Regions from separate parts of the Homo sapiens genome. Here regions 1 and 2 are each linked to region 3. The links are contacts of gene promoters, found by promoter capture Hi-C in blood cells and fetal thymus (Javierre and others, 2016). All regions are on one chromosome and are shown on one strand. Each heading gives the region's core, a stretch centred on a gene start or on the middle of the fragment in contact. The rest is flanking DNA. Distances are from core to core; before and after follow the strand shown. Region 1 overlaps CEP170 (centrosomal protein 170). Region 2 overlaps SDCCAG8 (SHH signaling and ciliogenesis regulator SDCCAG8). Region 3 holds the start of WDR64 (WD repeat domain 64).

Region 1 (2,700 bases), core at 130-2,629, 1.6 Mb after region 3:
AGTAAGTGTGGATTAAATGAGATTAAAACGGTGCCACTATACAACAAAATCTTTTTAGCATCACTGCCCAAAGAGGAAAACATAAAATTTTAAAGATATTCTTTTCTACTAAATTCACATGTTCTATTAAGAATTTACATCAGCTGACTTCGCTGAATGTATTAACTTAATTTTTTTAAATTTAAAACTGTTATAGAGAAATCATGTGAATTATAATTTTACCATGTTTTACATATCTTATTGTAAAAAACATTTACCTTGTAGGATTTTCTTCTTTCAAAACAAAAAATGAGCATAAACTATTCAAAGAGTCCAAAGATTTAGAGGAAAAGGGACACAATATGACATGTTTCAGAACAAAATTATCTTCATTTAAAATATGGGCTCTAAAACTGGAATTCACGGGACAGCTCTAAGAGGGAAAGGGACTGAAAGTCAAAAGAAAGGTATTTTAATGGCAAACTGTGGTTTTTGAAAATTGCTTTTAAGTTTCTTTTAAAGTTTTCTCTCTCTCTGTCTCTCTCCAGAGCTTAGTAAGTTGTCTGCAGATGGAAGCACCCAAAAGCAGAACGATAAGCCTGTGGAAATTGGTATTGAAAGGAAATATCATTATAGTCACAGAAGAAACAGTCTGTGAACCAGTGAATCTGAACTTGATCACCATGTATTACGGGGTTACTGTGTGAACCCTGGTATACTAAAAGCAAAGAGAGTATCAAAAATGGGGAACAGACATGACTTCCAATTTTTGGTCCAACATGGAAAGAATCTGAAGTCATCGCTCCCATCTTCATAATAAGAAAAATGTTGAACAAACTGAAAACCAAAAACTCATCTTAGTTTTTCAGAGACCTGAGGTCACAAGGCAAATTACCACCCTGAAAAGTAGAGAGACAAGCAAATACAGAGAGAATCACAGCTTGCCAGGAGCAGAAGCCTCCGCTAGAAACAGCAACCAGTAGGACAACTTAAAGGTGAAGTGATTAATTGCTAGAGACTTGAGGGTGGACCAACTTGAGATTTAAAAAAACTCCTGCATTAAATCTAAAAATTGCTTAAAATTCATTTTTGTTTTCATTACTTTGAATTTTTATTCATCTGGTTAAACTAATGAAATACTAAATTCAGTTCTTAAGTTGGCAAGAAGCAACAACGCACCACTCAGCAAAATAATTTCACCATATTGTTGATGTATCAAGTTGATCTAGTCTAAGGATAAAACCTCCAAATGTTGTTAAGAGAAGTGAGATTTCAAGTACATGTAGGCTCTCAATAAATACTGAATGGATCCTCATAAATAATCTCTCTCTGAGGAAAAGAGTACATAGGAAAAGGGCAGAAATCCTTTGGACAATGGACTGAAATTCAAAGAAAAAAATCTAAATTAGAGTTGAGAAAAGGCAAATTCCAAAGCAAAGTGAAATGTTACCATTAGATATAGGACTAAAGGAGTCAAATGGCTACTCATGGAGCCAGAGAATGGTGGCTTTCGAAGGAGTGTGATAAACACAGATGAGGGATATTGAGAAAAAGTGATTTGGGGAGGAAGTAATTTAGGACAGGCTGCTTCACTAAGTGAACAACTTGTTTGAAATCTGGAATATCCTTAATCTACAATGTACCCCGCCCTCCAACTGCTTATGGTGAACACTGACGGTACATAAACACCTACAGCAAAAGACAGAGCACACTTAAGACCTAAGAGAACAACAGAGTCCACTGAGTCGAGTGAGATGCCATTACAACTCTGGGGATTAGGGAGTGAGGAGTGGGCCTGTTATGTGGGATCACAAGAATACATCGTTTGTTTGTTTAATAAAGACAGTAACAATTCAAGAAGAGTAGTCAGGAACTCAAGGCAAAGAAGATCAGTTTAGTACTCACAGAATAAGACAATCCCATTTGTGTAACTATTTTTTTAAAAAAGCAGCCAATGAAAAAAAAATTCCTATGTTTTTAGTTATTATGAAATGTATATAAAGTATCAATGTGTTTCAGCACCCATGACAGGAATTAAGCAGAAGACCAAGATTACAGAACATAATACATCTAGTGACCGAGTCAAGGAAAACTGAGGGAATAGGAAGAATATGTAATGGATATCTAACCACTTAAGCATTAAACTGTTTTCATTTCTATATAATCAAATTCACATTTCCTCTAGATTAAACTGAACCAGAAGGTGCATGACAACTTGATATTCACAACCCATTTGGATATTTCAATGAAAATTTAATAAAAATCTCTCAGAAATACATAATTTAAATCCTAACAAAGACTGCTAACTTAATCACGTTTCTGATACTAATGGGAAAACCTTAGCTGATCTGAGCTTAAAACTGCAAAGATAGGCAATTTTGACCAGGCCCTTTTTTTCCTGTTACTTAAACTTCTGGTAAGAATGAAAGACTCCAGTCCCTGTCCTTTTATAGCAAGGGTGTCCAATCTTTCGGCTTCCCCGGGCCACACTGGAAGAAGAATTGTCTTGGGTCACACATAAAATACACTAACAACAGCTGATGAACTAAAAAAAAAAAAAATTGCAAAAAAAACACCTCATGATATTTTAAGCAAGTTTATGAATTTGTGCTGGGCCGCATTCAAAGCCGTCCTGGGCCTCAGGTTGGATGAACTTGTTTTATAGTGTTTTCCCTGTAAGAATCTATGCCTCCTCCATCTGATTCTTACCCCTATAGAGAC
Region 2 (2,700 bases), core at 70-2,569, 1.6 Mb after region 3:
TGCACTTTAAAATACACAAGTCTATTTATATGGAGCTATGTAAAAGAATGGAACTTAGACTCTATATGTATACAGCCTACATGTAATAATTATAAACCATAATAGTAATAATTAGCTTTTTAAGATTATACCTTTAGAATGCACTTTCATAGCCAGTATAACATATTAGAAATACATGCATATATTGAGAGTAAAACTGAGGCACTGTTGAGATGGAAAAAAAGTTATTACTTATTGTCTTAAAATGTAGATATCTAAACTAAAGCCCTTCAAAGTAGACACAAATGATTTCATGTGAACATTTTTCATACAATATTGGCTTGAGCTTTTTATTTTTCACATTGACTTCCTCCTGTATACTCATAGTAGTAATTTATATTTGCCTATCTTCTGAACCTATTGCTATTAATGGAGGATGATTATAATTGTTTGATTTCTACTCAGGACAGATAATTCATTTAATTAGAGTTACTTTGGTTTTTAAATTTCTTAAATATACCAAAAAACCAAAGCTCTATTTTATTTTATTCTGCCATGATAGCTGGTACTTGATTATCATTTAAAATGTCTGCTGTGCTGAGAAAGAGAGTGGCTGAGAAACAGACACTGTGCCTCATTTCAAGCTTTCCTCTGGCTTTGTTTAACTGGTTGACCCTTGTTTTACCTTTTCCTGATTTCCTCATCCTTTAAAAAAAAAATTATGTGATGGGTATATGATTTTACAAACTATTTTAGGATAAGGTAAGCTATACATTAACAGTCAGTTCCAGGAATGCTACAGAGCTAAAATAGCATTAGCGTTTTTTTGAAATCTCTTCGTTGGACCCCTCAATGCAGTGTGTCTCTACTTTAGGGTTCTACTCTTGGAGGTTCTATGCTCCAGAACACCATACACTTGAATTGCCTTCAATACTAGAGCCAAAAATCAAAAACTACATTTTGCTAATGTATCTTTTTTGAGATGGAATTTCATCGCATTGACACTGGCTTGGCATCAAACGCTTCCTAAAGAATCTCTCCTTCACGGAGCTGCTGCAGTTTTAGCTAGCAAATCCTCTTCCATGGCAGTTTCTTGGAGAGAGTTGTCCCTTGTATCTCAGCATTACTGAATGGAATGTTGTTTTTCCAATTTGTTAAAATAGTTTATTCCAAGCCAGTTATACTACTGCTACCCCAGCATTTTTCCATTCACTATATGTGCTTTTTATAACCACTTTCACCATCCATCTTTAAAAAAAATGATATTCACATCCATGAATCTTGTGTATTTGTGGAATTTATAGGATAGAGAAGCAAGTATTTGTATTAGTCCATTCTCGTGTTGCTAAAAATAAATACCTGAGGCTGGGTAATTTATTTAAAAAAGAGGTTTAATCAGCTCATGGTTCTGCAGGCTGTATAGGAAGTGTGATACTGGCATCTCACTCTGGTGAGGGCCTCAGGAAACTTTCAGTCATGGTGGAAGGTGAAAGGGGAGCAGGCATTTCATGTGGTGAGAGCCAGAGCAAGAAGTGGGAGAGGTGTCACATTCTTTTAAACAACCAAATCTCACCAAAACTCAGAGCAAGAACTCATTATCATGAGGATAGCACCAAGATTCATTCATCATGACCGAAACACCTCCCACCAGGCCCCACCTCCAATGCTGGGGGCCACATTTCAACTTGAGGTTTGTGGGGGACAAGCATCCAAACTATATCAAGACTATAAGCTACATTGTGATCGATTCTATGTTTATATCACATCAGTGCAAAATTGAGTATGGAGAAGGTAACAACTGATTCTTTGCTAAATCCAAACATGCTTAATTTGGCTTTTTAAAATTTATGTATTTATGTATTTATTTATTTATTTTTTGTCATAGAGGTCATTAGAACATGAGGAAACCAATATGCCTACTATGCACGACCTTGTTCATACTATTAATGACCAGTCTCAATATATTCATCATTTAGAGGCAGAAGTTAAGTTCTGCAAGGTAAGTTTCTCATTAAGAATTTAAAACTAAATAAATGAAAGCTTATATTAACTATAGATTGTATTAAAATTTGCTGCTATAAATCTTCATGTTTGTAGCAATACATTGACAATTGCTATTCTTACGTGATTGAGAGACTGATGTGTCACAAGAGCTTGTCAGACTTGGGAATGATGCTCTTGACCATACCATTTCTGATTGCTTGATTTCCCAGTAGTTCATTACTATGTCTAATGATTTCATAATATGCTTTCATATTTCAGAAGTTTTCCTTCTCACCCCGCTTGCTGTAGCCCAGCAAATGGCAAATGCTTTGGAATACAAATACCAATCATTCTCCCATACTTGTCAACCTACTGGAGCAGTGGTACAGCAATCAGGGATTCTAAACTGGTAGACCAATTCTTCTCCGCTGTCAGTATTAAGGCTCTTACTTTGACTTTGAATGAGAATGGTTCATAGGGTACTGACAGTAATGATCAAGAAACCAAACACATCATATATAGCTTATGACACTAGAAGGTTATATGCTCAACTGCGTGCAGTTTGCTAATGTCATTAATGCTAATAGAGCCTTTTCATCTTCCCGAAGTATGTCGTGTTTTACTTTTTTTTTTCTGTTTCTTTCTCTCTTTCTTTCTTTCCCTCCCTCTTTCTTTCTTTCTAGTATCAGTGTATTCGATTGTATGATATTTTTATAGGAATCACTGATATCTCTTGTA
Region 3 (2,700 bases), core at 83-2,582:
GTATTCAGTAAATATTTCCTAGATGAATTAATGGTGAATGCATTAGAATTGTAGGAAGAGTGGTTCTCCAGACATCACTGTACAGTGGTTTGAAAGCTTTAAAGGAAAAAGGAGGAGAAACAAATGGGGTTGGGGGATTTTTCTTTAAATAAAATCTTACTGCGCTCTCCTAACAGATAGTTAGAGGTGGACACCAAGAAGACAGTACTGGAATTGGAGGTGCTCTGAAATGCCATCTGCTTCATCTCTGAATGCAAGTTCTTGAAGAATGTTTTAAAAGATGGACTACCAAGGGGTAGGAAATTTATCTAACTCACCTAAGCCATAGGAAGTTAACTAATTGTTGAGAAACATTAAACAACTTCTCCTTCCCATAAAAAGTTGAAAATTGGAAAACCGGAGTCAATAGCATTTGGACTAAGTCGGATTGGAGATTGCAATGACTGGGAAGGAGATGTGCAGAAAGGCCTCTTCTAATTCATCTGACCTCTTACCTTGAAAAGCTGTCCTCATAATCAGAAGCCACTCCTTCCTTATCCTTGGCTCACTTTATTATTTCAATCGAAGGACAATGCACAAAGGAAGAAGAGCATTTGTATTCCCTATGACCTCTAAAAATGTTTGTGGTAGAAATGACAGGTGCTGAAATACATTTCATCTTTAGAAGTTCGAATTTCCATATCCAGTACAGTGGCAAGAATAAGTGTGAATATTACTTTTTTTTTTTTTTGAGAGGAAGTCTCACTCTGTCACCCAGGTTGGAGTGCAGTGGTGTGATCTCAACTCACTGTAACCTCTGACTCCCAGGTTCAAGTGATTCTCTTGCCTCAGCCTCCTGAGTAGCTGAGATCACAGGTGCCCGCCACCACATCCAGCTAATTTTTGTATTTTTAGTAGAGACGGGGGTTTCACCATGTTGGCCAGGCTGGTCTTGAACTCCTGACCTCAGGTGGTCCACCCACCTCGGCCTCCCAAAGTGCTGGGATTACAAGAATGAGCCGCCGTGCCTGGCCAAACTTTACTTTCCGCGGTATTGTGAGGAAGGCAAAAGGTTTGAGGTGAGAAGAGATACACGAGGGAGAAAGTATTACCCAGTTTTCTTACTTGTTATTTACTCATTCCTTTTCCCTCTCAAGCAGTATACACAACACACACATGTGCACGCGCACACACACACACAGTCTGTGGGGAAAAAAATATCTCAATCTCCTCCTTATGAAGGAAGTAGGATGTTACAGAGATATTATGATGCAATGAGGACCCTATGAAGGACACTGATGACATTGTGAGGTCAGGATTTTTACTGAAATGTTTGTCTGTATGAAATGCATCAGACCTAAATCAGCTTTCCTCCCTGCTAACATCCTAGTGGCAACTCTTACTCCTACCCGCACTATGGGATTTTAAGATCAAAGGAATTAGACCTAGGGCAAAAACTGAGACAGCAGGGAGGCACTGTAACAACTGGAAAGTTTTCCAAATTGGTAAACTTGCAGTATTCTTTCTGTACAGAAGTAAAAGATCCCCTATGTCCCTATGGATATCAGGAAGGAAAAGCGTCTCAACATGGCACTTCAGATGAGCAATTTCAAAAAGGCTTTGAACAGGTTTGAAAAATTGGTTGAACAAACAGCAGCCCAGAAAAGAGATGAAAGAGCAGGCTTATTTATCCATAAAGAAGGTAAGATCAGTGATTACACGATAGTCCAATTGGGTCTGTTGGTTAGAACTGGAAAATGTTTTAAGCCATCAGAGAGAAGCATCAGAGCTTAATGTGAAAGAATGGGTGCTGAAAGGGGATGAAGACCTCAGTTCTTGTTCTTTCTCTGTCCCTAAATAACAAAGCGGACATGAGGAAGCTTTTGTTTTGTTTTGTTTTTGTTTTTGTTTTTTTTTTTTACTTCTCTGAACCGAAGTTGCTTCAATTGTAAAACTATGGGATTGGATTAAATGACGTCCAGTGTTCTTCTGTAGACGCTGCCATTTGATGGCTCACTGGTTGACCTGGGATGCTCAGTAATGTATAGCACTGCTTTTTCTTAGCCTAAAGATATCATGAGACCATAAAGACTTTCATAAGAAGTGCAGCTTCCTGCCTCACCATGATTCCATTGTCTTGGCCACTCTCCATATCTCTAGGCAGGAATGATCTTGAGGATGCAAGCTAAGGAGAATATGGTGGACAGTGGTCTTACAGGAGGATTTGCAGCAGAGATGCCAGTGCATAGACAAGATTCAAGGGGAGTGGTGTAGTGTACAGCTTTGGCGTATTGAGGACAGCTGTGAAAAATAAAGCTACATGGCAGAGTGAAAGACTAACAGAACAAACCCTGCTGTTGCAATGAAAGGAGCAGAGCCCATATAATTGCTAAAGGGATAGTATAGCCAGCCTCTGAGTGTGCCAGGCTGCATAGTAATTTGTAAGTGAAAATCTTGACTTTGGGTGTTCAAACCCAAGCTGGTATTAATTGAATAGTATTTAATAATTTATAGTCATGTTAATCAATGTCATTATGTTCATTTTATTTGTGGAAAAAATGGGAGCTGAAGATAAATCATTTGCCCAAGTTACCCAAATTCTTTTCTTTTCTTTTCTTTTTTTTTTTTTTTCTGAGACGGAGTTTCATTCCTATTGCCCAGGCTGGAGTGAAATGGTGCGATCTCGGCTCTCTGCAACCTCTGCCTCCCAGGTTCAAGTGA

The links. Contacts are between HindIII fragments. The CHiCAGO score rates a contact against its expected background, and 5 or more counts as called.
Region 1: a contact is called between a fragment that was not itself captured here and the fragment with the promoter of WDR64 in region 3, in 1 of 17 cell types (total CD4 T cells). The highest score is 6.0, in total CD4 T cells.
Region 2: a fragment that was not itself captured here is called in contact with the fragment with the promoter of WDR64 in region 3 in 6 of 17 cell types (non-activated CD4 T cells, activated CD4 T cells, total CD4 T cells and 3 more); the score reaches 10.0 in non-activated CD4 T cells.

The regions. Positions count from the first base shown.
Region 1 is chr1:243,221,926-243,224,625 of GRCh38, forward strand. All of the region lies in intron 2 of CEP170 (centrosomal protein 170), which reads right to left. Among named protein-coding and RNA genes, the nearest start is that of CEP170, 32 kb to the right of the region's middle. The HindIII fragment of the contact is 3,709 bases long and covers 1-2,700 here.
Region 2 is chr1:243,272,679-243,275,378 of GRCh38, forward strand. It overlaps SDCCAG8 (SHH signaling and ciliogenesis regulator SDCCAG8), which reads left to right. Exons shown (of 18, transcript NM_006642.5): 4 at 1,865-1,978. Among named protein-coding and RNA genes, the nearest start is that of SDCCAG8, 18 kb to the left of the region's middle. The HindIII fragment of the contact is 1,396 bases long and covers 622-2,017 here.
Region 3 is chr1:241,650,949-241,653,648 of GRCh38, forward strand. WDR64 (WD repeat domain 64) reads left to right here and starts at 1,333. Exons shown (of 28, transcript NM_001367482.1): 1 at 1,333-1,681. The coding sequence starts at 1,537. The HindIII fragment of the contact is 1,763 bases long and covers 95-1,857 here.